Linked DNA regions of Homo sapiens: regions 2, 3 and 4 are each linked to region 1. The links are contacts of gene promoters, found by promoter capture Hi-C in human tissues and cell types (Jung and others, 2019). All regions are on one chromosome and are shown on one strand. The core of a region is centred on a gene start or on the middle of the fragment in contact, and the rest is flanking DNA. Distances in the headings are between cores, read along the strand shown. Region 1 holds the start of PROZ (protein Z, vitamin K dependent plasma glycoprotein). Region 2 overlaps ADPRHL1 (ADP-ribosylhydrolase like 1). Region 3 has its middle 10 kb from the start of MCF2L-AS1. Region 4 overlaps MCF2L (MCF.2 cell line derived transforming sequence like).

Region 1 (7,088 bases), core at 1,781-4,280:
CCATAGGCTGCTCATTTCAGGTTCCACACAAAGTTGTGGGGTCAGTTGATTTAAGCTGGGGACCCCCACAGAGGACACCCCAACATCTGAAGGACACGACAAAGACCCCAAAGGAAGGAAGATTCTCCTCAGGTATACAGAAGGAAAGTAAACCAGTCAATGGAAAAAGTGTCCCAATGTTGGTTGGTTTGTTTTTCAGAACAGAAGAGGGTGACAGAAGAACGATTATTCATATGAGAGATGAGGAAGATGAGTAGAACGAGGTGAATCTTAATGTTTGGACAATTTATTATTGTAGAATTTTTGGTCCAAAGGTGGTATCTTTGAGAAGGCAGATGAGAAAATTAAATCACCACATACAACACGGTCAGTCCACGTACAACACAGTCAATCACAGCTGTGGCCTCGATGTTGATGCCTTCCTGTATTAGTCTGTTCTCATGTCACTGTGAAGAAATACTTGAGACTAGGTAATTTATAAAGAAAAGCGGTTTAATGAACTCACAGTTCCACATGGCTGGGGAGGCCTCAGGAAACATAATCATGGCAAGCAGGCACCTCTTCACAGGGTGGCAGGAGAGAGAAAATGTGTGTCAATCACAGGGGGAAGCCCCTTATAAAATCATTAGCTCTTGTGAGAATGCACTCACTATCACAAGAACCACCTCCATGATTCAATCACCTCCACCTGGTCCTGCCCTTGACCTGTGGGGATTATTACAATTCAAGGTGAGATTTGGTTGGGGACACAGAGCCAAACCATCCCCCAAAACTCACGTTGAAACCTAACCCCCTGTGCAATAGTACTAGGAGGTGGGGCCTCTGGGAGGCACTCTGCCTTCATGGATGGATGACTGCCCTCCCAAAAGAGGCTCCAGGGAGCACCCACATTCCTCCCTTCCACCATCCAAGGACACGTCTATGAATCATGGGCCGTCACCAGACACTGAGTCTACTGGAGCCTTGATCTTGGACTTCCCATCCTCCAGAACTGTGAGCACTACGTTTCTGTTTATCGTAAATTACCCACTCTAAGGTGTTTTGTTACAGCAGCCCCAACAGACTAAAATGGTCCATGAGGGAAGAGGTTGTAGCTCAGATACCCATGTCAGGCATATAGGATGTGCTTAATTAACACTTATTGATCGAATGTGTATGTCCCTGTCTGCCTTTCCATTTTTAGGCAGCTATTGATGGTTTTTAAACTATCCAGCAGAAGTATTTTTAATGTAAATTTCCATGTGGGAATACATTTTCACACAAAAAAAGGCACCTTTTCTTAAGTGAAGGCCACGTAGATTGCCAGGCTGGTGCAATTCACCCAAGAGCTATCCTATACAATCAACTTCTGGCTTTCAAATTATTTTAACTCACTCACTAAAGATAAACTTTATTTTCTTTTCCCAGCTTTTTAAAGCAAACTTCACAACTTCAGTGTATTTGCGGGCATGCCCTCTTAATCAAGGGTGTCAGCTTCTTAGTTTTCTTCTGTTCCCACTTTAACAAAATTGTATTTAGAATCCTTTCATTGAGTTTTGCCACCTTTGAGTGTCATTCAATCGAACAATATCTATATGCTGACAATGCTGTCATTTCATCTGTTACCACCTGAATCTCCACTGTGAGTCCCAGCTTCTCGGATGCCCACTCCTGTCTCCACCTGGACATCCCACAGACACCTCAAATTTGCCAAACCTCGCTTCCCTCTGCCCTCCTGGAGCTTGGCCGTCTCAGCACACGCACTGCCATCCTCCCAATCGCTCAGCCCAAACCTTGGAGCCGTGCTGCCCGACACAATTCATCATGAATCCCATCAGCTTTCCCTTCCTGAAGCATCCAGACTGCAAACGTGCTTCCTGCTGCATGGCTGCACCCTCACCCCCTCCTGGACTAGCCGGCAGCCTCCCTTTTGACTTCTCTGGAATGTTCTGTTCTCCACACAGCAGCCCAGTGATCCCTTCAGAGCACAAATCTTTCCATGTCAATTCCTGTTCCCTCCAATATCTTCCCAACACAGTGAAAATGAAACACCAGGTTCTTACCTCAGGCTTCAAGGGCTGATATGGTTTGGCTGTGTCCCCACCGAAATCTTATCTTGAATTGTAATCCCCATAGTCCCCACGTGTCCTGGGAGGGACCCGGTGGGAGGTAATTGAATCATGGGGGTGGTTTCCACCATGCTATTCTTGGGATAGTGAGTGAGTCTCAAGAGATTTGATGGTTTTATAAGGATCTGGCATTTCCCCTGCTTCAGTCATTCTCTCTGCTGCCACCCTGTGAAGAGGTGCCTTCTGCCATAATTATAAGTTTCCTGAGGCCTCCCCAGCCATGTGGAACTGGGAGTCAACTAAACCTCTTTTCTTAAATTACCCAGTCTTGGCTATTTCTTCATAACAGTGTAAGAAGGGACTAATACACAGGGCCTACATCTGAAAGCAGCAAACGACAACCCTGGGGCCAAATCTGGCCCCTTAATAGCTCTTATAAATAAAGCTTTATTGGCACACAGCCAAGTGTTCATTCATGATTGTCTATGCTGCCTCTGCTACAATGGTGCTGAGCTGTAGTGACAGACACTATTTGGCCCTTCCCCGCTTTCTCCCTCCTCCCTCCCTCCCTTCCTTTTCTCCCCTTCCTTCTTTCCATCCTCCTGCTTTCCCTCCCTCACTCCCTCCTGTCTCTTTCCCTCGTTCTTTTCTGTGTATTCCACACACACCTAGAACGTAAGCTGCATGTGACTTTGTCTGTCCCGCCCAGTGCTGTGTCCCCAGGGCCTATCTCACCTCCATTGACCACACACGGGCATGGGTGCCACCTTCCACCTTGCACCTGCTGCCTTTACCTTCTGTTCTCTGTCTCCCTAAATATCTCCCAGGGTCCTCTGAGCCTTCACCGTTCATTTCTCTGCCTGGCCTCAAACAGAAAACGTCAGGAGGGAAGCACACAGCTGCACAGGTCGTGCCCCGAGGCTCCTGCTGCCGGCACCTCCCCCAGCCTGGACTTTGGCTGTGTTTGTAGCCCTGTCCCAGCGCTCCGGGTGGGAATGGCAGGCTGCGTCCCACTGCTCCAGGGCCTGGTCCTGGTCCTCGCCCTCCATCGTGTGGAGCCCTCAGGTAGGCATCTGGCTTACCTGTCTGTTGTGCCTGTGCTGTGTCTTTCTTGACTCGGTCCATGGTGGATTTGTAGATGAGGCTTTTTCCAGGAGCCAGAGGAGCCCTGAGTGCCCAGACTAGTCTTAATTCCCCTGAAAAAGCTGTTTGGATCTTTATCATTTGGTGACAAGTATTTGGGACATGATAGTGTCACTTGGGGTCCTCCCAAGAGATGCCCAAATGGAAAGAAGCCTGTGTGCAGGGGATTCAGCCGGGAAAGGCCGGGGAGAGGGGAGGGGGAAAGGGGGAGGAGTGGGGGGAGGCCTGGGTTGGGCATTGGACGAGGGGAGGGGGTGGGGCAGGCTGAGCCCAGACTGCAATGTGGGCAGAGAGAGCCTTGGCCAGGCCAGCCAGGAATGCCCAGTCTTGAGTCAGGAGACATAGCCAGGGAGCAGCCACCCTGCCTGCCTGCCACCCTTCTACCACCAGCCACTTCACTGAAGGAACGACATGGACTCCATTCTGACTCTGCCTGCACAGGCGTCCAGGAAAGCTGCAAGTCAAAACACCCAGCATCCCCGCTGGCCCCATGGTCTCCCGCTGGCCCCATGGTCTCCCACCCTGAGAGGGTGATCCCCCCGCCCTGCCCTGCCCAGCACTTACCGTAGCCGGACTTAGCTGAGCCCCCCCTGCTGTAACCCTCAGCACCGAGAGAAAAGGAGGGAGGATGGGAAGGGCCTGGGCTTTGACCCTCCCGGAGAGGGAGAGAACATGCTTTGGGACCCTCAGGTGGGAAGAGGCTCCAGAGACCACTGCCGCGGGTCAACTCATTTGCCTTCTCCTCCTGGAAATCGCAGAGCCTGCTGCAATGTATAAGTTTCTTCTTTATGTGTTTTATCAAGATGTTAAATGCTGCGCACAGAGGCAGCACAGGAGCTGATGGCTCTTGGTCCCCAGTTCTCAGTACGGGGACCTTTGACCCCAGCTCAGCCTTCCTTCGCACTCAGACCCAAAACCCAGTTGGAGCCCTCCCTCCTCCACTTTCCTGACTGAGGCCCGTGGCCTCTCTGCAGAACCTTAGTGTATCCGCACTGATCCTGGGGCTGATCCATTCGCCCAGAGGATGAAGTGCTTGCCTACCTCGGGGGAGGGAGTAGCGGGGTGGCCCTGAGGCCCTCGCAGGCTGAGAGCCTGTGGAGACGGACGGGGCTGGGGCTGGCGGCCGGCCGGGGAGGAAGCCAGGCAGCTCTGGAAAGCAGGGCCCTCGGTGCTCCCAGTCACCTGCCTTCTTGTCTCGTCTGTAGTATTTCTCCCGGCCTCCAAAGCAAACGACGTTCTGGTGAGGTGGAAGCGTGCGGGCTCCTATCTTCTGGAAGAACTCTTCGAGGGAAACTTGGAAAAAGAATGTTATGAAGAAATCTGTGTCTATGAAGAAGCAAGAGAAGTGTTTGAAAATGAAGTAGTCACTGTATGTACCCCCACCACAAACCACAGGCCTCCTCATTATTTAGACTTCTGCTGGCCCAGGGAGCATCATTTCTCAGAGATTAAGCTTAATTAATTAGCCTATTTACTTACCGATGAGGTTGACACAATCCCAGTTTTACAGATGAGGAAACAATTTAGAGAATCGACTTAATCCACCTTTCCCTACAGCAGTGAGTGGGGCTGGAAGTCAGCTCAGAGCCCACTGGACTCATTTCTTCAGGTCAGGCAAGGCCCACACACTGATCAGACACCCAGCATACATTTTCTTTCTAGGCTTCAAGTCTGAATAATTCTCCTAATTTTAGATACTCCTACCCCAAACTAAGTGTCCCCACTCCCTACAGAGGTATATATCTTTAAAATTCAACTCGGTTTATAAAAAGCGAAAAGGTGATGTGACTTCTATATCATGTGCTTTTGTGGAGGGTGGCGTGGAGATTGGCCCTAGAAGGGAAGGGCCACGTTAGGGGCTGTGGGTGGTGGGTTTGTGCCATGTCATAGACTCTGGCCTTCCTCAAATAGGTGGTGGTAAGCACATGTTGAGTAATATATCTTACAGATACATTTAGTTACTATACATTTAACATAAACAAATAGGCTGTAAAACAGGAAAATTGTGCATTGTTTCAACCACTATTGTCCTATTAAGTGAATAAAATCAACATTTTCTTACCTTCAAGTTCATCTACAGGAAAGAATATAGAAAAACAAATATCCCATTTGTAACATTTTTATGTTTTAACTCTAAAGGATGAATTCTGGAGACGATATAAGGGTAAGTGGTTTCCTTCGTCTCCTCAGAAGTATTAATTCCTCGGGATGAGGTGCGTGGGTGGGCTTAGGACGCTTCACGACCCCAGCTCAGCGGATGCCAAGCCTCTGGCTCCAGGACCCACGGTGTCTCTCCAGGGAAGGGCAGCTCCGACTCTCCCCAAGGACCAGGTCAGGAAGCCCCCGGGCTCTGCCACCAGGGCCACAGGCAGTGCCTGGTTTGTCTTGCCCAGTGTCTGGGTAGTTTCTTGGCACTCTGGGACATGGGCCACAGGCCAGGAGGGCCCCCCCAGAGCAGCTCCTCCAGCCGCCTGGCTCCTGGGCTCCTGGGAAGCCTCATGCTGCAGCAGGGTCAGAACTCGTCTCAAATTTTGGAAAGTCATGGCCCCGATGGAGACTTTGGTTAGGAGACTCCTCCCAAGGGAGGAGCTCTAGGTGGGCAACTGCAGAAGAGCATGGGACAGAAGTAACACAGATGGAGACCCACGGGGCTGGGGGAGGCCAGGGTAAGGACCCACCTGGGAATGAGTAAGCAAAGAGCTGCAGCCACCACCAGACAAGCACGGGGACAACTGGGCACAGAAGGAAGCGGGAGAGGCAGGGAAGGCCGGAGAAGGGCTGATGGGGCGGGACAGAGGGGACCGCGTGCGGACGAAGAAAGGGCACCCAGCAGAGTGGGAGGCACTGGCAGCCAGGCCTTACATCCGGAGCGGGGAGCGTCCTGGGGGCCAGGCGATGGCATGGGGAGCAGCATGAGCAGGCTCAGTCCCCATTCCTGCCACCCCCTGCCCCCCCGTCCTCCTCCTGCTCAGGTCCCCGTCCCTGCCACCTCCTCACATCCTCCTCCTGCTCAGGTCCCCGTCCCTGCCACGTCCCCCCATCCTCCTCCTGCTCAGGTCCCCGTCCCTGCCACGTCCCCACATCCTCCTCCTGCTCAGGTCCCCGTCCCTGCCACCTCCCCCCATCCTCCTCCTGCTCAGGTCCCCGTCCCTGCCACCTCCCCACATCCTCCTCCTGCTCAGGTCCTCGTCCCTGCCACCTCCTCACATCCTCCTCCTGCTCAGGTCCCCGTCCCTGCCACGTCCCCACATCCTCCTCCTGCTCAGGTCCTCGTCCCTGCCACCTCCCCCCATCCTCCTCCTGCTCAGGTCCCCGTCCCTGCCACGTCCCCACATCCTCCTCCTGCTCAGGTCCCCGTCCCTGCCACGTCCCCACATCCTCCTCCTGCTCAGGTCCCCGTCCCTGCCACGTCCCCCCATCCTCCTCCTGCTCAGGTCCCCGTCCCTGCCACCTCCCCACATCCTCCTCCTGCTCAGGTCCCCGTCCCTGCCACCTCCCCACATCCTCCTCCTGCTCAGGTCCCCGTCCCTGCCACCTCCCCACATCCTCCTCCTGCTCAGGTCCCCGTCCCTGCCACGTCCCCTCATCCTCCTCCTGCTCAGGTCCCCGTCCCTGCCACCTCCCCACATCCTCCTCCTGCTCAGGTCCCCGTCCCTGCCACCTCCCCACATCCTCCTCCTGCTCAGGTCCCCGTCCCTGCCACCTCCCCACATCCTCCTCCTGCTCAGGTCCCCGTCCCTGCCACCTCCCCACATCCTCCTCCTGCTCAGGTCCCCGTCCCTGCCACGTCCCCTCATCCTCCTCCTGCTCAGGTCCCCGTCCCTGCCACCTCCTCACATCCTCCTCCTGCTCAGGTCCCCGTCCCTGCCACCTCCCCACATCCTCCTCCTGCTCAGG
Region 2 (7,088 bases), core at 2,245-4,744, 240 kb after region 1:
CACAATCTCGGCTCACTGCAAGCTCCGCCTACCAGGTTCACGCCATTCTCCTGCCTCAGCCTCCCGAGTAGCCGGAACCACAGGCACCCACCACCACGCCCGGCTAATTTTTTTGTATTTTTAGTAGAGACGGGGTTTCACCGTGTTAGCCAGGATGGTCTCTATCTCCTGACCTCGTGATCCGCCTTTCTTGGCCTCCCAAAGTGCTGGGATAACAGGCGTGAGCCACCGCGCCCGGCCCCCTGTGTTTTCTTGAGTGCAGGGGGCAGAATCCATCCTGGGGAATTTGAGCAGAAAGGGACATGGTGAGCAGTGTGACAGCTCCCAGCTCCTTGCAGGACTAGAGGAAAGGCCTCCAAGCCCAGCTCTGCACTGGCTAATGAGCTTCCTTCTCTCAGCTTCCCTGGAAACATCTTTCTCTGCACACCCAGGAGACTCCATATCACCGGCTCGTCCTCACCGTGGGCCCAGAACCTGCTGTGCCCTGCCGGCCTGGGGAGGTTGCGTCTCCCTGGCAGAGCTGCATGCGTCCCAGCAGCAAGGAAGGCTGGGGATGTGGGATGTGGGACTGCCGTGCAGAGAGAAGACAGGATTCATGTTGTGGGGAGCTGTCAAAACGTAGAAAAATAGCCCCACTTTTGGGGCTCCCATGAAAGACTGGGGTCTTATTCATATGTTTGAGCCCCTTTGGAATTTGAAATGAAGCCGAGTTCCCTTCCTAACGACACAGAGCTCGCAGAAGCCGCCTCTTCTCTTGGGCGTCCACCGTCAGCTCTTTCTGGACTTTGTTCTTCCTGTATGTGTGCGGCTTCCTGCCGTTATCAAAGTCCAAGAATTTCATCAGTTTCTTATTTTGTTTTATTTTTTAACATTTTATTCATTTTTTTTTAAGATACAAGATCTTGCTATGTTTCTAGGCTGGCCTCAAACTCCGAGGCTTACGTGATCCCCCCACCTCAGCCTCCTGAGTAGCTGGGACCACAGGTGCTGCCACCGCACCCGGCTTCTTGATTATTTTATCATCATCATTATTGATTGAGCAATGGAAATCTGTAACTTATTTGGTGCTTTTTTTGGGTTCTTATTTCTTCAAGATTTGGAAAATTCTTCCCTACGTGCAGATTTGCTGGTGGGTTGAGCGCCTTCTTCCAGTTGGGGATTAAGACATGACTTCCAGTGGTACAGGCCGTAAGGAAACAGCCATCCAGAGAATTCAACAGCTCTTTCTCCGCTCTTCAATACAACATGACCTGTGGTCTTTTGTTCTTTTATTTTTTATTTTACTTTCATTTTTAAATAGAGACGGGGTCTCACTATGTTGCCCAGGCTGGTCTGGAACTCCTGGTCTCAAGTGGTGAGAAACAAACTCATCTGTCCAAACCCAGAAGAAGGACTCGGAGACCCGGAGGAGAGTGAAAGGGAGACTTTCTTTCTTTCTTTTTTTTTTTTGAGACAGAGTCTCGCTCTGTCACCCGGCTGGAGTGCAGTGGCGTAATCTCGGCTCACTGCAACCTCTGCTTCCCGGGTCCAAGCAGTTCTCCTGCCTCAGCCTCCTGAGTAGCTGGGATTACAGGTGCACACCACCACACTCAGTTAATTTTTTTATTTTTAGTAGAGACGGGGTTTCACCATGTTGGTCAGGCTGGTCTTGAACTCCTGACCTTGTGATCTGCCTGCCTCAGCCTCCCAAAGTGCTGGGATTACAGGCATGAGCCACTGCACCTGGCTGAAAGTGAGACTGTTGATGATGGTCTTGCAAGATCGGGTGTCTGATGGGCAGCCACAGCCAGCACAGTTTCAACAAATAATTTATCCCCTAGTGCACAGGTGTCTCCCCGGGTTCCTCACAGGCTGAGTACTCTGGGGTCACAGTCTTCTGGGACGTCACCTATTGGTTGTTGGGCAGGGGCTGTAGGTGTTTTTTTTAGGGGTGTCCTGTTGCATTTTGTTGCAGCCCACAATGCATTGCAATCCCAGTCAGCCCAGGGGCTCTTCAAGTATTTGACTTATGACCTAAGTAGCTGGGCAGGCTGATAAGAACAGACAAAGCCAGCTATTTTGCAGGCTAGTAAACTGTTATCTTAGACTAAACTTCTTTAGTTCAGGTGAGAGCACCTAAGGGCCGGGGGGAAGGGAGGGAGAAGGGGAGGCCGGCAAGCAGGCACTGGCGATCCAGGCAGGGGCCTCGGACCTCCTGTTTCTTCTGTAGTTTGCTGACTTAAGCCGATTCAAGGCACTTTGTCTTGGAAACGGACCACTGTAGACACTGTTGCCTTCACTCCCCGCTTGGCCTCCTTTGTTCTTCTAGGAGAAGATGCCTCGGCACTTTCACGAGTTTGGGGTGTGCACAGATGGGGCTTCTAGTAGGCTCCTGTGCCTTCGAGTGGCTTCCCAGACACCGCCTGGGGTTGTGGACCTGAGCCAGGCCAGTCCTCTCGCTGTCAGAGAAACGGCGTGCACTGCTCAGCTGCTCAGTCCTGGGCTTTGGGGGCTACGTGACATCCATTCCTGTCAAAAATCCATGGCGGCCATAAAGATTCAGCAAATGCACCGACGCTCAAACAGACAAATGTCCCGGCACTTCCTTTTGTGGTTGGGGCTTTTTCTTCTGTTCAGGGAAACATTTGTCTACCCCAAGCTTATAACAATATCCCAAGAATGGGGTTTGATCAGACTTCTATGTACACCAGTCTCACAGACGCCCTCAATAAGTGCTTTTAAAAGTTCTAGCCGGTCGCAGAGGCTCACGCCTGTAATCCCAGCACTTTGGGAGGCCGAGGCAGGCGGATCACGAGGTCAGGAGATCGAGACCATCCTGGATAACGTGGTGAAACCCTGTCTCTACTAAAAATACAAAAAATTAGCCGGGCGTCTTGGCGGGCGCCTGTAGTCCCAGCTACTGAGGAGGCTGAGGCAGGACAGTGGCGTGAACCCGGGAGGCAGAGCTTGCAGTGAGCCGAGATCACGCCACTGCACTCCAGCCTGGGTGGCAGAGCGAGACTCCGTCTCAAAATAAATAAATGAAATAAAATAAAATAAAAGTTCTAATGAAAGCCTGTGTCATAGCTTAATTGACAGGGGTTTTCTTTCAGGACAAGAGGTGCCTGCACCATCCCAAAGCCTCGGCTGCCGGGCCAGTGCTCTCAGACACGAGGCATCAGCTCGTTTCAGTGGAACAAGCTTTCCTCCTCACAAGATGCCAAGAACCCGCGCCACCCACGGGCACAGCAGGGGTTTGGAATGCAGGCATTCCCAGCTAGGTCTGGCGTGAGCTTAAACCACCCGTTGTTAAATCCTCATGAAAAGTCACTTACAAAGTTCTCCTGCATACAGAGTAGTGGAGGGCAGAGGGTGTCTCACAGGCCTGCTGGGCCCGTTGCACCCATACTCCTTCCCTCCCTTCTGTCCAGTCTCCCTCCGTGTCCCAGAGGACACCCCAGCCCTTTGGCCCCCCGCGGCCCAGGTGCAGTGGCCGAAGTCCAGCTCCCTGGGTCTTGCTCCGAGGCCGGCACAGTCTTGACTGGACCAAGAGAGGGTCTGGGGAGTGCATGGCCTTGTCTCTCTAAGCACATCCTAAGGAGTTCTCCTCCCACTTGGGGCCTTGCCCCAGACCCTCCCTCCTGCCCAGGATCACTGCTCCAGGCTGGCCACATTCACCCGATGGGGGCTCTGCCCCTCGCCCCAGGCCTGAGTCCTACTTCATTTATGCGGCTGCTTCAACAATGCAAGGAAGAGATTTGTAATGGGAAAGGTATTTTATTTCTTTTTGAAATTATTTCCAGCTGAATGATGTTAGTAAAAATACAGAGAGAATACAACAAATGACATTTAGTAATTTTTTCTGACTAACCCATTTTAGGGTTGTTTATATACAAAGAAGAATATGAACAAGAACAAATTTAATAAATAGCTGTAGCCTAATACACAACCGAAAGACCGTAACTCCAACAGCAGAGATACCCTGAGAACAGAATAAGGAGGTGGTGCTGAGCGTGTAAAATCCCAGACAACGACCCTCCCTGAGCGAGTGTCCTGAACATGACCACATTCTCGTCGCCGTCTCGGGACCTTCCTGCCGCCTGAGTGCACCGCCTCCCGCCCGGCTGTTGTCACTTGCACCCACAGACCTGCGGCTCACAGTGGGCCTGTCGACAGCCGGAGGCACCGTAAAAAACTGCAGGGAGGAGGCAGTCAACGAGTCGCTCAACTACACAAAATTAATGATGTTAACTAAGAAGCTAAAATAAATATCCTGTTTTCTTTTCTTTTCTTTTCTTCTTTTTTTTTTTTTTTTTGACGGAGTCTCGCTCTGTCACCCAGGCTGGAGTGCAGTGGCGCAATCTCGGCTCACTGCAAGCTCCACCTCCCGGGTTCACGCCATTCTCCTGTCTCAGGCTCCCGAGTAGCTGGGACTACAGGCACCCACCACCACGCCCGGCTAATTTTTGTATTTTTAGTAGAGACAGGGTTTCACTGTGTTAGCCAGGATGGTCTTGATCTCCTGACCTCGTGATCTGTCTGCCTCGGCCTCCCAAAGTGCTGGGATTACAGGCATGAGCCACCGTGCCCGGCCACTTTCTTTCTTTCTTTTTTTTTTTTTTTAAAAAAACAAAACAACTTTGGGTTTTATTTAAAATGCCCGTGGAGGTGGTTAGCGCCCCATTCTTCTGCTGTAGTTATTTCACCCCGGGAGGGTGTGGGCCTTAGCCATGTGGCCGTGATGGTCGTATCTGAAGTGTGAATACTTCCCCGCGCTATCTTCTAACCTGCGCTGTCTCAGCTTAGTGTGAACGTACGGACCGTTCTCAAATCCTGGTGAAGTCACTGGCAGTTTTTTCCTGCACACAGAGTAGCTGTGCTGTTTTTGAGCTGAGGGCAGTGTCATGCTGGGCTGCATCTGGCACATGGAGAGGACGGGCCAGTCGAGCAGGTGGCCTCCTGGCCGCTCACAGACTCTGCGCCCGCCAGACTGTGAGAGGGGTTCAGGCACGACACTTCCGGAGCTGTCATCTGGAGGAGATTCTCATCATTTTTTCCACCACTTAAAATAAAACCACTCAATGCCTTCTCCAGTGTACTCTCTGGTCTATTTAAAAATAGCAGCGCAAGTCCCACCACTTCTTATTTATAAAGGGAACAGCCAGTGAACATATTTTTACCTCCCGTGTCTGTCATCATGTTCTTGCCACTCATTGCCTCCAATTCCAAATAGGTAAAGAGTGAGGGCCGTGCCGCTGTGCCTGGAGTGGCAGGGGCAGCCACACAGACCTGGGGGTCCCTGAGCTCCCCCAGCTCCAGGGAGGACGCCCCAGGCATGAGCAGGGGCCGCCAACAGGACAAAGAGGCCACTCTGTCAGCCTCTGCTGGACCCCTGAGCTCCCCTCTCATGGGCCTCTCCGTTTGGGTGGCTCCGAGAGGCCAACTCCAGCCCCAACTGCAGGCTCCCAGGACTGCAGGGGCAGGGACTCTGGAGGTCCGTGTGCTTCGTGAGAGAGGGGACCCTGTCCTCCTAGCAGGGGTCCAGCGGCACCACAGCAAGACTTCTGTGGCCAAGTACACGCCATGCTCAGCTCTGCCCCCACCCGCACCCCCGGACCATCCTGTGTGCAGCTGGGCTGCCCCGGGACCCACACGCGCGAGGGGCACCCGGTGCTCAGGAGCCTCCACACACAGCAGCTCGCACTTAGAACCCACACGCCAAGCAGAAACCCCTCGAAGCGGGCTGGGAGCACGGACCCCTGATTTATAGAGGAGGCCCCGGGGGCCCTGTCGGGGGAGCTGTGGGGACCGGCCCCCCAGAGCTCAGCACAGCCCGGCCCTCCTTCCAGACACCAGCACTCGCATGTCCCAGCAGGTGAGGGTGGGTCAAACCTGCTGGATCTGAAGTTAATTGTTCGACTGGAAGGAAACCTGTGCGCTCCCCGGAGCATGACGCCACGCCGCCTCCTTGGCGCTGCAGAGCCAAAGCCACTGGCGTCTGCCGGGATGGACCTTCCCTGGAAGGAGAGACCTCAGCCCCGCGTGGGTAGGACGCGCCTGCTGAACGCCCTCTCAGGGCCGACACTGGAAAACACCTTCCTCTAAAGGAACATCCGAGTCAGAAAACAGGTGCTCGCAGCAGGCACCAAAGCGCCTTTGCGAACGCTTAGGGCTGTTTCAGGAAACCGCTCAGTAGCAAAGGCAGAAGATGCCAAGACACCTTCAAAAAGCAGGAATTAACTTTCCACAGGGAGGGCACCACCAAAAACAAGGGTGCGGGGCTGTAGGGCGACAGGCTGCATCGGTTCACGCTGAAAATCCAGCTGCTCCGGGGCCACTCAGGCAGCCGTGTGGCCTCACGGGTCCGGGTTTCAGAGGCCACCGAGTGGCCTGGGACGATGGATCGCGACACGGAGGTGCATGGCTCCATCATGGGGAAGAATGTGCTTTAAAATAGGTGCATGGAGGAAGAGCCTAAAAAATAGTCCAGAGTAGCAACAAAAACCATCTCGAGGCAATGTGACCACAGGTGGCTTTGATTTCCTTCTTGTGCCTCTAGACAGCATTCAAATATTCCAGCCTGAACATGCATTACCTCAGTACCTGAACAGGGCCGGAGTCGTGGGCCGTCTCGGGCCAGGGCAGGAAACACTTCTATGCTGTTCGGGAGGACGGAGGACAGACAGCGAGGCTCTCAGGTCACCGGCACCAGTGGCACCACCCACAGGGACTGCAGGGAAGGGCGGGCAGGCTCCCGTTCGTTCTCCCAGCACCCAGTTTCCAGACGAAGCCTCCCTGGGATCCTGGCTTCCCACGGCTCTGCACTGTCCCTTTCTCAGAACTTAACGTGGGCATTTCCTGAGGCCTCTTCCTCCGGATGAGCTGGTTTCGGCCTGGGATCCCAGCGTCCCCACACCCTCTGGTGACCACCACATGGCCCAGCAGCCACACAGCACCCGGCACCCACCTGGGCGTCTGAGGCTGGAGGAAGCTCTGCCCTTTCTTTCGAGTCATGGGGGTGGGGCGGTGTGCATCACTTTGGGCCCATGGATGGTGGGTGCCATGCGGCCACGTCAGAGCAGGGCATGGTGGGGTGTGGGCAGGGAGCA
Region 3 (7,088 bases), core at 1,612-4,111, 200 kb before region 1:
AGACCTCCAGAGCTCTGCTGAGTGACGGGCAACATGGCCGGGACCCTGGTCCCAGGCGTAGCCTCTCTGGGGACTCAGGGACCCGAGGGAAAGCTGCCTGAGGCAGCAGGAGAGGAGTGAGGGGCTTCATGAGGTGGGGACCCCGTCCCATTGCTCAGTGCTGGGTCCCCAGCATGAAGTGTCTGACACAGAGGAGGCCTCACACGTCCTAAACCTGCATCAGAGCAGGATGAGTGGAGCCCAGCCCTCCGTCCTGGGTCCCCTTAGGCAGTAGCCAGAGGCTCCCAGCAGCCCCTCAGGAAGCTACCAGCAAACGGAGACATGGGAGCCGCACCCGATGGGTCTGATTGGGTGTGGCTATTTCCATGGCCCATTTTTGTGTTCAGGTTCTGATTGTCTGAACGTTGTGACATTGGCTGATATTTATTTATTGCTCACCACATGCCCGGTTACTGTTCAAATCAATTATATGCATTTAATCCTCGAAATAACCCACAAGGTGGGGACTTTGTGACCCCATTTTACAGATGGGGCTACTGAGGCAGAGAGATTGAGTAACTCCCTCAAGGTCACCCCCTGATAACTAGGATTGGAACCCAGGCAGGTGACTCTGGGACCCAAACTCTGAACCCCTTTGCCATAAGGCAGACTGCGCTGGAGGCTGTTTCCATTCCCCAAAAGAGCCCCTGCGCTCAGCATTTTGTGAGCTTTGAATGTGGAAGCTAAGACCGAGGGCTTGTCTGCTGTCGGAGAGTGGCCACCTACACACATCTTGAATGTGGGTGCCTTTAAAATACAGATATCCAGGAGATCCCCAGAAACGCTGGAGAATAAACGTCAGCTCAGGTTGCCATCATTTAGACGTTGCATTTAGTCCCGGAGGATGGATGCCATACCCAGGGGCCAGAGGCATTCTTCCCTCTGGCTTTTCATTTGGTTTCTTTTCAGTATTTGGAACGTAGAAATCAAGTCTGGATGTCAGAGTATTGATTTAGTTTTCTTTTTTCCCAGGAGGCGTGATTAACAAAGAGCCAAAATGGCAAACTGTGTGGAGGCCGTGGCGTGGGCTGTTCCTCGAGAGCCGTGCTTGTAGGGCTGGCCTGGGAGGGCATCCCTGGTCCGCAGAGGCCGGTCTGTGCCGCAAAGCCTGGGCGCAGGCACGGGAGTGGCAGGAGGGTCCTGGAGTCAAGGGAGCAGCTAAATTTCAATGCAGCAGCTTCTTTTTGCCAGAGATCCAGGTTAAAAAAAGAAAATGTTTCACCTTTTAAAAAATATCATACTTAAGACCTGCATTTGTTCTATACCCAGATCATCTTTTTAGAGCCAAAACATCAAGAAATATGGCCTGAAAAAGGCTCATGAAAATACTGTTCTGAGAATTAAGTGTTAATGACATTCTGAAACCTCACTGTTTAAAGAGATCCACTGCTAGTATAACAGGACCCCTGATATATTTATGCATTTATAAATTTATAAAATTCATTGTTAAAATCGAGCAATGCTGGAAGCGTCTGGCCCACGGATGATGAGGAGGCAGAGTTTTCAGAGGATGCTGGAGGACAGTGCACAGCTCCCTGCCAGTGGCTGCGGCTTTCAGGCTGCTGGGACAGTGGCCGGATGCAGACCTGTGTGGAGCAGCTGCTGCTGCTGCAGCGAGGTTGGCCACATAGGTGACGCCCTGCTAGGCGCATCCAGGTCCAGCCTCGAGGTTGTCCACTTTGAGGCCAGGTCTGCTGGGAATCCAGGCCTGCTGTGTCTACACTCTCACACTCCTTAAACTCTCCTGACCGGGACACACGATGAGGTTTTCCTATCAAACTCTACATGCATTTCGTATGACATCTCTGGATTTCATCAGCTCCGAGTAAACCAAGCCTTACTTACAGCCAGGAAGGCATTCAATACCCAGATCTGGTCACATTCTGCCCATTGGTGCATGTTTTAGAAGCATGTGTGTGTTTCTGCCCACCTCATGGCTGCTGAGGAACAGTGGCTACTGCGTGTCGTTCTTGTGATGCCTTTGTGATTTTGTGTGCAGAGCCTTATTTACAGGCCGCCCCCGAGAGCAAAGGATAATGGTGCATTATCTGTTGACGTGACCCTGGAGAGCTCTAACTGAACTGCACAAATGGGAGAATCCTCCCCTACCGGCCCCTGCTGCTCACAGACAGTACGCTCAGCTCAGCAGGGGCTGCTCTTACAAATGCCATCGCAGCACAGGCGGTCAATGCTTGGCATTTTCTGGGGCCCCTGGTTTCCTTTTAGAGGACGCAGTATTTTCAGAAATGGAGTTCACATGTGTGCTCATCAGTCAGCAGCAGTCAGCTGTGATGTCTCCAAACTGTAGAGGCTTTGGACTTTTTGGCCCACTTTCTTCATAGAACGATAGAGATTTAGGATCTTACTGCCCTAGTTTAATCTTGGTTTGCAGATGAGAGGCCGAGGCCCCGGGGTCCTGAGCCACGTGAGCTGGGCTTCCACCCTGGACTCCATGCCGCGCCTCCTCGCCAGATAGACGCCAGATAGACGCCAGATAGACGTGGCCAGTCGTGCTGTTTCAAGGTCTTATTCCAGTCAGGTTTTTGTTTTATTGATTTTTTTGTTCATGAAGTAGAATATGGTTCATGTATTACATACTTTTCTGTGTGTGTGTTTTTATTACAATATCTCATTTTCATGGGTTTTTATAACTTAAGTTACCTCTAACCTATGACCCTTGTAGTCTCTTCTTCCACCTTGTGTATCCTAATGTGGGAATTCTGCTTTGGTGGATGACTTTTGTGAAGTGAATTAACATACATTTCATTTAGAATAATGCTTTGAGCAACTCAAAGAAAGTGAATTTAATTTTATCACTTAGTTTTTATTTTATACTTAAAGAGCTCTATTTGCCTTATTCAGATTTTTGCTATCAGTGTTGTATATACACAAAGGGAAGCTAAGCAAAATAACTTGGTTAGATTTTCCTAAAATTTCTTCATTCAGCATCCAACTCTTCTGACTCCCTTACCTGGGACGTTCCCCAGCTGTCGCCGTCAGTCTTCCTCAGATGCCAGTTTGTTGAGGTGTTTCTCTTTCCCTGATGCCTCTTGTGCCAACAAATAAAGACTTTCAGCTCTTCCTGGGCTCTCGAGACCAGGCCTGCTGCATTCTCAGAGAAGCAGAACCTTAGGAGATGCGTGGACGTGCGTGGTTCGTCTGTGCCCCGTGTCATGGGCTGGCTTATGTAATTGTGCGGCTGGCATGTCTGACCTCAGTAGTGCAGACACAGGCTGGAGACCCACGCAGGATTTCCATGTGACAGTCTGCAGGCAGGTGTCCGCTTCTCCGGGGGACCCTGTCCTATTCTCTTAAGGCCATGCAGGGATTGAATGAGGCCCAGCCCACTGTGGAGGGGCACATGCTCCATTCGGAGCCAGCTGACCGCAGGTGTTAATCAGCCACATCCACACGACACCCGCACAGCCCCCGACGAGGGTGGGACTGGGTGGCGGGGGCTGGGGCCTCAGCAGGCTGACCCCTGACCCACCAAAGACCAGGCTGCATCCTGACTCACCTTCCTCATTTCCCTGAAATGCATCATTCCTTCCTGGCCACCTGCCTGGCACACGCCCAGGCTGACCGCATGGACCATTTGCTGTCTCCTAGGGTTTGTTACTTCCCGTGCCTTCATTACCCCTGGGGCCTCTCCTCATGCAGCTCCTCAGGCCTGGAATGCCCCCAGCCCTGCTCGTGTGTGGGATACGTGTGCCAGGCACCTCCTGGTGGGATTCCAGGTTCTGCCTTGGGGCTAAGAGCACCTGGAGGCTCAAGGTGACTTCTTTGAGACCCTCCCGCACAGGGTCTGGATGGCTCGTGGGAGAGCCGTGAACACAGAAGCTGCCGTGGAAGCAAATCCTGGGCGGGAGGATGGCTGCACCTCCCCCCGGAGAGCACCGGGGTCCTGCAGGAAAAGCAGAGGTCTCCTGTGGCCGCTATGCCTCTTCCAGAAACTTCCGTACGCACAGAATGAGCGTCGCATCCCAAATGCCTGGTAGTGGTATTGCGGATAAATGTTAACCTAGAGGTTTTTATCTGAAAAGTTCCAGTTTAATTTTTAAAGTCTTGTTTTTACCAATTCTGCTTGTTCAAGACATACCATATGCTTTTTTCCTCTAGTTTTTCTTTTAGAAAGAATTTAATGAATTGTGCTGGGATCACCCTCATATCGTTCTCCCTCACCACCCCCCGTCCTCCGGGTCTCTCCACTCTGGCCCCAGCAGTTGGCGTGTCAGTTATATTTATATTATACATCCTGCCATCTGGGGCTCTCATCGAGAGTTTCTCGGACATGGTGTGACATCAGTGGGTCCTTTGTTTCAGAACAAGCGCGTTCTCCTTACTCTCTGGCACGGCCTCGGTGTTTAGGGGTTTCCTCTCTCTGGGAAGCTGTTCCTTCTCGAGAACACAGTGTGCTTTGTTCCTGCAGTGAGGGAGGAGGGTCATCCTGGGGGGAGAACTCCTGGCAGCATACAGAACAATAGGACAGGAGGATACTGTCCATGGCTGTCTAGGTCTGAGCTGTTCAAAGGTATTCTCCATGTTTCCATGCGTTTGACTTCTAGGTTAGATTTTCTCCCTATTAGAGGGAATATCTCATTCCTCTAGCATAGACAGAGGGGGAATATCTGTTGGCAAGAGGGATGTCAAAACCCAAAAGTGAATTATTGGTAGCAACCCACGTGCAGTACACACCCACGACAACCAAGCTGCACAGTGGCCTGGCATGGTGTGTCCACAGCAGCAACGCACCGGTGCTGGAAACCGAATTTAGACTATTTGGAGTGCACACAGGCTCACGAGGCTTTCTGAATGGTCGTGCCTGTCTCCATCATGGGAGATGCACAGTGGACACGCTGTGGCCTGTGCTGTCTGTGACGGCAGCAGCACCTCCTGCAGGTGTGGGGAGAGCCCTCTCTCTGTTCTCACGCGTCGGGCTGCGGCAGAGGTGCCTGTGTCACCGAGGTCCCTCGGTAACTTCAGGGCAGAGGCCTTCTGTCCCGGACGCCTGCCCTCAGGGGCTGTGTCTTTGTCTGTTTTCTGCTGCTATAACAGAGTATCACAGATTGGGTAATTTACACACAATGGAAGTTTAGTTGGCTCATGGTCCTGGAGGCTTGGAAGCCCAAGATTGAGGGGCTGCATCTGGTGAGGGCCCCTGAGCTGCGTCTTTCCAAGAGACGGCCTCACCCGGTGAGAGAGCGGAGAGACCGAGAGGGGGCCAAGCGCGCTCTCACAACTGAAACAGCGCTCGTCCAGTCATGAGGGCAGGGTCCTCAGACCTGGTCACCTCTTCTTAGGCCCCATGTCCCAGCACGGCGGCATTGGGGGTGAGGTTTCCCACACACGACCTTTGGGGGACACATTAAACCCCAGCAGACTGCCTTGTCCCCTGCTCATTTTGGTTGTTGCATTGAAATGTGGGTGTGATGGATGCTGGAGTTTCTCTCCAAGGGGGCGGGATAGGCTGTCATTCTGGGGAAGGGGGGCTTTGGGGTTTCGGTGTCCAGGGCTGTGTCAGTTTCCTATTGCAGTTGACAGATCACTGCAAACACTGGCTAACCACACACATTCATGGTCTATAGCTCTGGAGGCCAGAAGTTCTAACACCAAGGTGTGAGCAGGGCTAGTCCCTTCTGGAGGCTCCAGGAAGAATCCTTTCCTCGCCCTGTCCAGCCCCAGGTGCTGCCTGCATTCCTGGGCTCATGGCCGCACCACCCAGACCCTTACATCCATCCTCACATCTCCTCCCTGCCTGAGCCTCCTGCTGCCCTGCTGGAAGGACCCTGGGATGACCCTGGATCTCCTGGATAGCCCCCAATGGCTCTCTGTGGTACGTGGGGGCCCAGGTTCTACCGTGAGTGACTGCAGGCCGTGCCGCAGCTCAAGTGGGGGCCCCTGAGGGGCCTCCAGTGTTTGGGCTGCAGTGACCAGGCATCAAAACACACACTTCCAGGGATGTTGGGGTCCTCCCTGACCCTGCTCTTCCCATGCATTCCTACCAAGGGGAGTCTGCTATGCCTCCACGTTGCATCTGCTATGCCTCCACGTTGCACCTGTTCTCCACGTGTGTCCATGTGAGCACACGGCAGAGCCCTGAAGACTTCTGAAGATGCGGGCTGCTAAGCTTTCTGCATATACCAAGTCTTAAAATAATACAAAATGTGATGAAGTGACTCTGCTGTTATTGTATTGTCATTATAATAAAATACAACTGGGCACTAATTTGAAAGTGTCGAGTGATCTTTGCAGGTATTCACTGCTTTGTACTTGGGCAAGCATTTGCCTTCCCACGAGCAGTCTTCTGCCTTGGGGTTCGGTTGGCCCTGCGAGGAGATGCCTGGTTCCCCAGGGGTAATCGTGCAGCAGGGCTGGGGGACAGGGCCTCAAGTCTTCCTCTAAAATCTGAGGAGCTCTGGTTCCTCCTCAGGGAACATGGTCAGGCCTGGTGGGACTGGCCCTGCCGTTCCCTTCCTGCTGCTGTGGGCTTGGTGTGGGGTCCCAGGCCCAGGCCAGAGCCCACCCCTCTCGAGGCCCTTCCTGCCATGGCCTGGCCGGGACCTGCAGCCCTCCTTCCCATGTCTGTGGCCACACACACAGCTGGGCTGTTGAGGGCATCCCCACTGCTACTTCCCGGGAGCTGCAGTCACCCTCAGTGAGCCCCTCTGTCCTCCTAGTTCAGGTCCTTCCGGAAGGTGCTTCCTGTGACACTGAGTCCTCGCCCCAGCCCAGGAGAGGCCACTGATGGATGGCCTGCTGGGGTACGGAATCAGAGGGGCCTCCTGCCTTGCTGTGACCACGAGAGGCCACTCATTCACCCTCACTCCCACCCTCCCGCTCTGCTCCTCACTCACCCACCTCCTCCAGTTTCTGCCTGCGCCAGCTTCTCCGTTGCACAGCGAGGGGACATGCACACACACATGCACACACAAACACGCTTACACATGGGCTCACACCCAGGCATGCACACACACACACGGACACGCACACACATGCACACACAAACACGCTCACACCCAGGCATGCACACACACGCACGGACACGCACA
Region 4 (7,088 bases), core at 3,111-5,610, 150 kb before region 1:
ACGTGACCCACTGGCCACTTCAGGCGGCTCTGTGTCGTAAGGATCAGTTTCACATTAGGTGATTGCCGGACTTACATCAAGCTTGAAGAAGCAGAAGATCCCTGCACACACGTGTGGCCCAGACCAAGAGCCGTCACGTGACAAACTTTGTGCTTAAATGGGTTTTTAGTATGTGTATCTTTTCTTTTTCTTTTTTTTTTTTTTTTTTGAGATGGAGTCTCGCTCTGTCACCCAGGCTGGAGTGCAGTGGCACAATCTCAGCTCACAGCAACATCCACCTCCCAGGTTCAAAAGATTCTCCAGCCTCAGCTTCCTGAGTACCTGGGACTACAGGCACCTGCCACCATGCCCAGCTAATTTTTGTATCTTTAGTAGGGAGGGGGTTTCGCCATGTTGACCAGGCTGGTCTTGAACTCCTGACCTCAAGTGATTTGTCCACCTTGGCCTCCCAAAGTGTTGGCATTTATAGGCGTGAGCCACTGTGCCCGGCCAAGTACGGGTATCTTTTTGGCAGTGTGAAGAATTTATTTAGGCTTGACTGTTTTAAAGCACCATAATGAATGTATAATTAAGTTATGATAAAGTCTTAACCCTTTGTTACAGGGGAACGGTAATGTTGTGAGTGGCTGTGTCTCAGCCCCTGGACTCCAGCAGTCACCCTCATAGGAGTCCCACCTCTGCGGGCAGCTCAGAGCCTCCATGTTTTTATATTTAATTCTCATGGTTAAATTCAGTGCCGTAACTCATGGAATTAAGTCTTTTTAAAATCTAAGCAAACTGTCTTTAAGACAGAAAAAGTTGGGTAATTCTTCATCTATTTGAAGTGATGCTCTCTGGATGGGCTGCATCCTAAGAATGTATCAAAAGTGGAAATTCTGACCACTGTTTTGATTGTCCTTTTACATATTAAACAAGTTGAGAGCAAGAACAACAAAAAGAGGGACCTCCGTGACCACGCCGAGGAAGACAGAGCCTGGCCTGGTTGGAAGATTGGCCTCTCCTCTGTCTCCTGTTTTCTCCAAGGTCCGATAACAACTCAGTTTCCCTTGGAGTGTGGGGACTTCATTTTGATTTTCAGTCTGATCTGTTGGGGTCTAGGCAGGAGCTTGGTCCCAAACAACACACCCATGTGTGCTGAGGACACGCTCCAGGGGATTCTTACGCCCGCCTGCATCAGAGAACCCAGGTCTTGTGGGCGAGGCAGCGTGGAGAGGGAGCGCAGCTCTGGAGACGGCCCCCAGGGCTTGCGGGCGGGCGGGCGAGGCAGCGTGGAGAGCGGAGAGCGAAGCTCTGGAGACGACCCCCAGAGGAGATTGGCCAAGTGCGGATGTGCGAGTCCTCCCTGCCCGAGGCGCAAACTGTCTCACTCCAAAGGGCGTCCGGAGGGTTCTGCGGGGCGGCTGTGCACTGACACCTGCCCCCCACGTGGGAGTCCGCCGGCTCCTGGCCCTTGCCGGTTGGTGTTGCGCGTCTGAGATGACGCCCCTGCGGTAGGAGCGGGGTTTCCCTGATCACCGCTTCTTTTGACCATCTTTTCTGGCAGGGCCTTGTATTTTTAAAATGTGTAAAGGTTAAGCTTTCTGAGATCAGAAAAATAATATTTAGTGAACCATGTGATTTAAGTCACTGTGTATGTGACATGAAATATTTATACCTAACCCACTAGCAAATGGCTCGTTAAACATATTTGAGATTTAATGTAAGTGAGAATTCTGCCAACCAAGTCAGGATAAACCTTAAACATCGGGAATGCAAAATCAAACAGATCCTTTAACACACATCACAAACAGAGGTGTGGACGCCCCTTTTGTCCCAATGGCAGGGACGGGGCGCTGGCCCCCAGGGTGTCCTGTTTATCCCCTGACCCACACAGTGTCAGGAGCTTGTCTGGAGGGGACGGGGATGCTGGCCTCCTGGGGTGTCCTTATCTGAAGGCTGTGGTTTCAAGCATCCTCCTTACTGAATTTAGATTTTGTTCCGATTTTGTGGCCTGCGTTTCTTCTTACTGCCCTGCTCTGTGGCCCTGTTCTTCCTGGGTTTGGAGATCCTCAAGGATGGGCTTCGGGAAGGCCTCTGGCCGGATGATCTGGTGACGTAATCCCATCTGACGCTCAGCCTTGGACTTTGAAAAGGCACGACTGTCCTGTCTGATGGACAGGATGCAGAAGCCTTTGGGAATGGGCATTTTGCCAGAATAAATAAAAGAAGACAATTGGCAAAAGATGGACTGTACCCCATGGCCCCAGGCTGCTGTGTGGAGAGACTTGTCCTCTCCTCTGCCCACGGTCACCAGTGAGCACCAGGGACGGGGTTTCCTGCTGCACCTGGGCCTCTTCCTGCTGCCAGGAGCTGCCTTGCTGCCTCCACCTGTGACAGTCCACCCCCCATACCCCCCCCACCCGCACCATGAGAGGATTTCCAGGGCCCACCCGCCTCCAGTCCCCGTTCTCTCTGCTGCTTTCGAGGTCACCCTGGGCTGGAAGGGGTGCCTGGGATACTGCTCAGACGTCTTGGCCGCCCTCCCACCCCGCAACACCCCGCTCCTGGTTTTCAGGATGAAATTGTCCTCAAATAAAGCAAGCTTTTGAGTCAACTTGCAAGAGGAAGGAAGTTTGCTTCAGTCGTCTGGTTTTGTTGGAACAAAGAGATCTAAAGATAGACACATGGTCCCCCTCCCTGGACTGCCATTGCCAGGACCCTGTTTCTGTGAGGAAAAGTCAGTGGTGGGGCCTCACCTGTGTATCAGGTGAGCCAAGGGCACCTCTGCCCTTCCCACGCTTGGGAAATCTCACCACGTCGTCCCCGTAGTGGCCAGAAGAGATTGGCCCTCCCAGGTGGGGCTGCTGTGGTCGGTGCTGGGGATGGGCAGGGGCAGGCCTGGCCACCCCCTCGTCGGCCCCACCTGCTGCCTCTGCCCGCGTGGCAGGGGAATGGACGGGGCAGCCTCTGCCGGGCCTCAGATGTGAGGCCCTAACCCTCCCCTCTCAGACCTGCCTCTGAGCAGTGGGGTCATCACTGGGGAGTTGGTTGGAGCAGGGCTCAGTGAGGGAGCTGGGCCTGGCCTGGCCTTGGGTGGCACATACGGGTCAGGGGCCCACCACCTCCCAGACGTCTGACAGCACAGAGCCCCACAGAGGCCATGCTCGCCTGCCTGCATCTCCTCTGGGGACCTGTCTCCTGAACTGAGTGGCCACTATTGTTCCTCCGTGCGCTTCTTAGTCTTATGGCTGCAAAATTAAGTAGACTGGAACTTTTAAAGAAACTATGATCATAAGGGCAGATTTTCCCATCATTCTTGAGTGGGTTCAAAAAATCAAGAAGAATGAAAACTTACACACATAAATGGAAGAAACGCCCAGCGCCCTGAAAATCCCAGGGCCCCGCCTGCAGAAGGCCTCCATGAAGAACGGAAGAAGGCCAACACTCTGGTGTGGGTCAGAGAGCATCCACAGGCCTCTTCAGGTTCACAGAGTGGCCAGTGACCACTTCAGATGTAGCGATATTTTAGAGTTTATTTGTATGAGGGCTTAGCTGTGTGCAGTTTCTGATCACACACAGGGGGATCCCTGCTTTTCATACCCAAAATGAGGCATTTGATCTGAGGGACAATATTTAGAGTTTGTCCTGGCCCAGAGAGTCCAGAGGCACTGCGGGCTGCCAGCAGGTAGACAGTGCAGTGCAGATGATGGACAGGTGGTGTGGACGGTGGACAGGTGGTGTGGATGGTGGACACTGCAGTGCAGATGGTGGACAGGCGGTGTGGATGGTGGACAGGTGGTGTGGACGGTGGACAGGCTGGGTGGATGGTGGACACTGCGATGAGGACGGTGGACACTGCGATGAGGACAGTGGACAGGTGGTGTGGACGGTGGACACTGCAGTGTGGATGGTGGACAGGTGGTGTGGACGGTGGACAGGCAGTGTGGACGGTGGACACTGTGATGCAGACGGTGGACAGGCGGTGTGGACGGTGGACACCGTGATGCGGACGGTGGACAGGCGGTGTGGACGGTGGACACCGTGATGAGGACGGTGGACAGGCGGTGTGGACGGTGGACACTGTGATGCGGACGGTGGACAGGCGGTGTGGACGGTGGACACTGTGATGCGGACGGTGGACAGGCGGTGTGGACGGTGGACACTGTGATGCGGACGGTGGACAGGCGGTGTGGACGGTGGACACTGTGATGCGGACGGTGGACAGGCGGTGTGGATGGTGGACAGGCGGTGTGGACGGTGGACAGGCTGGGTGGATGGTGGACACTGCGATGAGGACGGTGGACACTGCGATGAGGACAGTGGACAGGTGGTGTGGACGGTGGACACTGCAGTGTGAATGGTGGACAGGTGGTGTGGACAGTGGACACTGCAGTGTGGATGGTGGACAGGTGGTGTGGACGGTGGACAGGCAGTGTGGACGGTGGACACTGTGATGCGGACGGTGGACAGGCAGTGTGGATGGTGGACAGGCGGTGTGGACGGTGGACAGGCTGGGTGGATGGTGGACACTGCGATGAGGACGGTGGACACTGCGATGAGGACAGTGGACAGGTGGTGTAGACAGTGGACACTGCAGTGTGGATGGTGGACAGGTGGTGTGGACGGTGGACAGGCAGTGTGGACGGTGGACACTGTGATGCGGACGGTGGACAGGCAGTGTGGACGGTGGACACTGTGATGCGGACGGTGGACAGGCAGTGTGGACGGTGGACACTGCAGTGCGGATGGTGGACAGGTGGTGTGGATGGTGGACAGGCGGTGTGGACGGTGGACAGGCTGGGTGGATGGTGGACACTGCAATGAGGACGGTGGACACTGCGATGAGGACAGTGGACAGGTGGTGTGGACGGTGGACACTGCAGTGTGGACTGTGGACACTGTGATGCGGACGGTGGACAGGCGGTGTGGACGGTGGACACTGTGATGCGGACGGTGGACAGGCGGTGTGGACGGTGGACACTGCAGTGTGGATGGTGGACAGGTGGTGTGGACGGTGGACAGGCAGTGTGGACGGTGGACACTGTGATGCGGACGGTGGACAGGCGGTGTGGACGGTGGACACTGTGATGCGGACGGTGGACAGGCGGTGTGGACGGTGGACACTGTGATGCGGACGGTGGACAGGCGGTGTGGACGGTGGACACTGAGATGCGGACGGTGGACAGGCGGTGTGGACGGTGGACACTGTGATGCGGACGGTGGACAGGCGGTGTGGACGGTGGACACTGTGATGCGGACGGTGGACAGGCGGTGTGGACGGTGGACACTGTGATGCGGACGGTGCCCCCACGGTCTGTGAGGCAGGCAGGGGATTGAGGACAGTGCCTCCTGGTTTCCTCTCAGGTCACAGTCGCTCCTGGTGAGAGAGAAAAACTTACCGTAAAATCTGAACATCCAACTGCGCAGTCTAGGCTGCCGTCGGCTGCACCAGACACACATTCCAGAGAGGTGTGCACCAGTGGAAGTCACCTTGCCAGGAGCATGAGATAGTATTTCATGCTTTACTGATTGACTGTTTCTGTCTTTCTCCCACAAAAGAAGCCATCGCCGAGACGTGGTTGCGTACTGGGAATGGGTCTGTGCCCTGAGCTCGCCCTGCAAGGCTCTGGGGAAGGGCCTTGACATCTGCTTGGCTCTGGCAGGTCCCATGACACCGTGGCCCTGCTGCTTCCCCCCCAACACCAGGGTTGTGTCTGGCTCGGAGGCAAAGCAGTCCCATAGCTGGCAGGGCCGCAGCCAGCACGGCCCAGGAGGGGCCCCTTTGTGTTCCACTGTGTCCCGTGTTTACACTTGTTTGTCTGCAAGACTGGAAGAGCAAGATTTAAGTCTGATGCCAGGTAGATATTATCTGGCAGCCTCCGCTGGGAATTTCCAGGTACAAACACCTCTGTCCCATATCTTCAGGCTGTTAGTGACCTGGGTCCTCAGGTGTGGAAAAATTGAGCGTTTAAGCCATTCTCAGGTCATCAGCGTGAGTCCTGCATCTTTTAGAGAGAAATTGTGTGGATGTTCAAGACTGCAAATGTGGCTATATGATGAGAGCGTTGGCCAGAAATCGTGTCTGCTCCGTGGTCAGTGGTCAGTGTCCCCCAGGCACAGTGGCCTGGCAGCCGCTCTGTAGCAGAGACCACCAGCCTGTCAGTCCGTACAGCTTTCCCTGGAGGGTCTTGCTGGCCCCATGCTCCCGGCTGGTGCTGGCTCCATGCTCCTAGCTGGTGCTGACCCCATGCTCCGAGCTGATGCTGGCCTAGTGCTCCCAGCTGGTGCTGGCCCCGTGCTCCTGGCTGGTGCTGGCCCCATGCTCCTAGCTGGTGCTGACCCCATGCTCCGAGCTGACGCTGGCCTAGTGCTCCCAGCTGGTACTGGCCCCATGCTCCCCCCGTGCTCCCAGCCAGTGCTGGCCTGGTGGCTGCAGGTGCTGCAGTGCGTCCAGAGCCATCTGGAACCTGCTGGGTGGGGGGATGGGTGTGGGGGTCGACCCTGCTGTTGCCATCCTGCCTCATTTGTGTCCGTCTAATGGCGAGGCCAGGGTTGTGGCACAGACCCCCGAGGGTCCTGTGTGTGCGGAGGCAGAGGCCCATTCCATGGCCAGGTTTTCCTCCTGGGCCACAAGTTACTGCACCTGCAACAGGTGCGGGGCAGGGGTCGCCTGAACATTTTCCCTAATGTGGGTGGGACTCAGACCAAAGTGTATTTATCCGAGGAGCCAGGACCAAGCCCTTTCCCACTGCTCCCCTGCCTCCCCTCTGCCCAGGTCTCTCTCTTTGTCCCTCCCTCTCTCTGTCTCTCAGTCCCTCTCTCTGAACCTCTTATATCACACTTTCAAAATTGATGGTGAATCACTCAACACACAGCTTTTATGCGCTGAGAAACAAAGGCCTCCACGTATTGGAAACTGAAAAGCCTTTTTCCAGCCACGTGACGCCACTCCCGTAGGTGCCTGTGGATGTGCCAGCTCCGTGTGGGATCGGGTGGGCGCTTGCAGGGTGAGGCAGCTTCCTGGGACTGACACGTGCCGTCTGCTCTTTCCGTGCAGATGAAATCATGCACCAGGACATCGTCCCGCTCTGTGCTGCCGACATCCAGGA

Evidence for each region. The method cuts DNA at HindIII sites, captures the fragments that hold promoters and counts their contacts. A contact is called where the count stands out against the background at its distance.
Region 2: a contact is called between a fragment that was not itself captured here and the fragment with the promoter of PROZ in region 1, in 5 of the 25 tissues and cell types used here (H1 embryonic stem cells, IMR-90 fibroblasts, heart left ventricle and 2 more).
Region 3: a contact is called between a fragment that was not itself captured here and the fragment with the promoter of PROZ in region 1, in 2 of the 25 tissues and cell types used here (IMR-90 fibroblasts and dorsolateral prefrontal cortex).
Region 4: a contact is called between a fragment that was not itself captured here and the fragment with the promoter of PROZ in region 1, in 7 of the 25 tissues and cell types used here (H1 embryonic stem cells, IMR-90 fibroblasts, aorta and 4 more).

Annotation. Positions count from the first base shown.
Region 1 is chr13:113,155,618-113,162,705 of GRCh38, forward strand. PROZ (protein Z, vitamin K dependent plasma glycoprotein) reads left to right here and starts at 3,031. Exons shown (of 8, transcript NM_003891.3): 1 at 3,031-3,113; 2 at 4,397-4,560; 3 at 5,331-5,355. The coding sequence starts at 3,044. LOC124903216 (a long non-coding RNA gene) reads left to right here. Exons shown (of 4, transcript XR_007063880.1): 3 at 200-263; 4 at 913-993. RefSeq lists enhancers at 2,514-3,091, 3,668-4,245. The HindIII fragment of the contact is 7,105 bases long and covers 763-7,088 here.
Region 2 is chr13:113,395,871-113,402,958 of GRCh38, forward strand. ADPRHL1 (ADP-ribosylhydrolase like 1) reads right to left here. Exons shown (of 8, transcript NM_001394807.1): 8 at 3,741-7,088. Among named protein-coding and RNA genes, the nearest start is that of GRTP1, 35 kb to the left of the region's middle. RefSeq lists a silencer at 2,164-2,458. The HindIII fragment of the contact is 6,890 bases long and covers 50-6,939 here.
Region 3 is chr13:112,955,032-112,962,119 of GRCh38, forward strand. It overlaps a transcript of MCF2L not described here. Among named protein-coding and RNA genes, the nearest start is that of MCF2L-AS1, 10 kb to the right of the region's middle. RefSeq lists enhancers at 1,147-1,887, 1,888-2,627, 2,628-3,368, 6,090-6,813. The HindIII fragment of the contact is 9,655 bases long and covers 1-7,088 here.
Region 4 is chr13:113,007,727-113,014,814 of GRCh38, forward strand. It overlaps MCF2L (MCF.2 cell line derived transforming sequence like), which reads left to right. Exons shown (of 30, transcript NM_001112732.3): 2 at 7,037-7,088. It overlaps LOC107984591 (a long non-coding RNA gene), which reads left to right. Exons shown (of 2, transcript XR_001750037.2): 2 at 1-2,610. Among named protein-coding and RNA genes, the nearest start is that of MCF2L, 42 kb to the left of the region's middle. RefSeq lists an enhancer at 6,389-6,917. The HindIII fragment of the contact is 8,660 bases long and covers 31-7,088 here.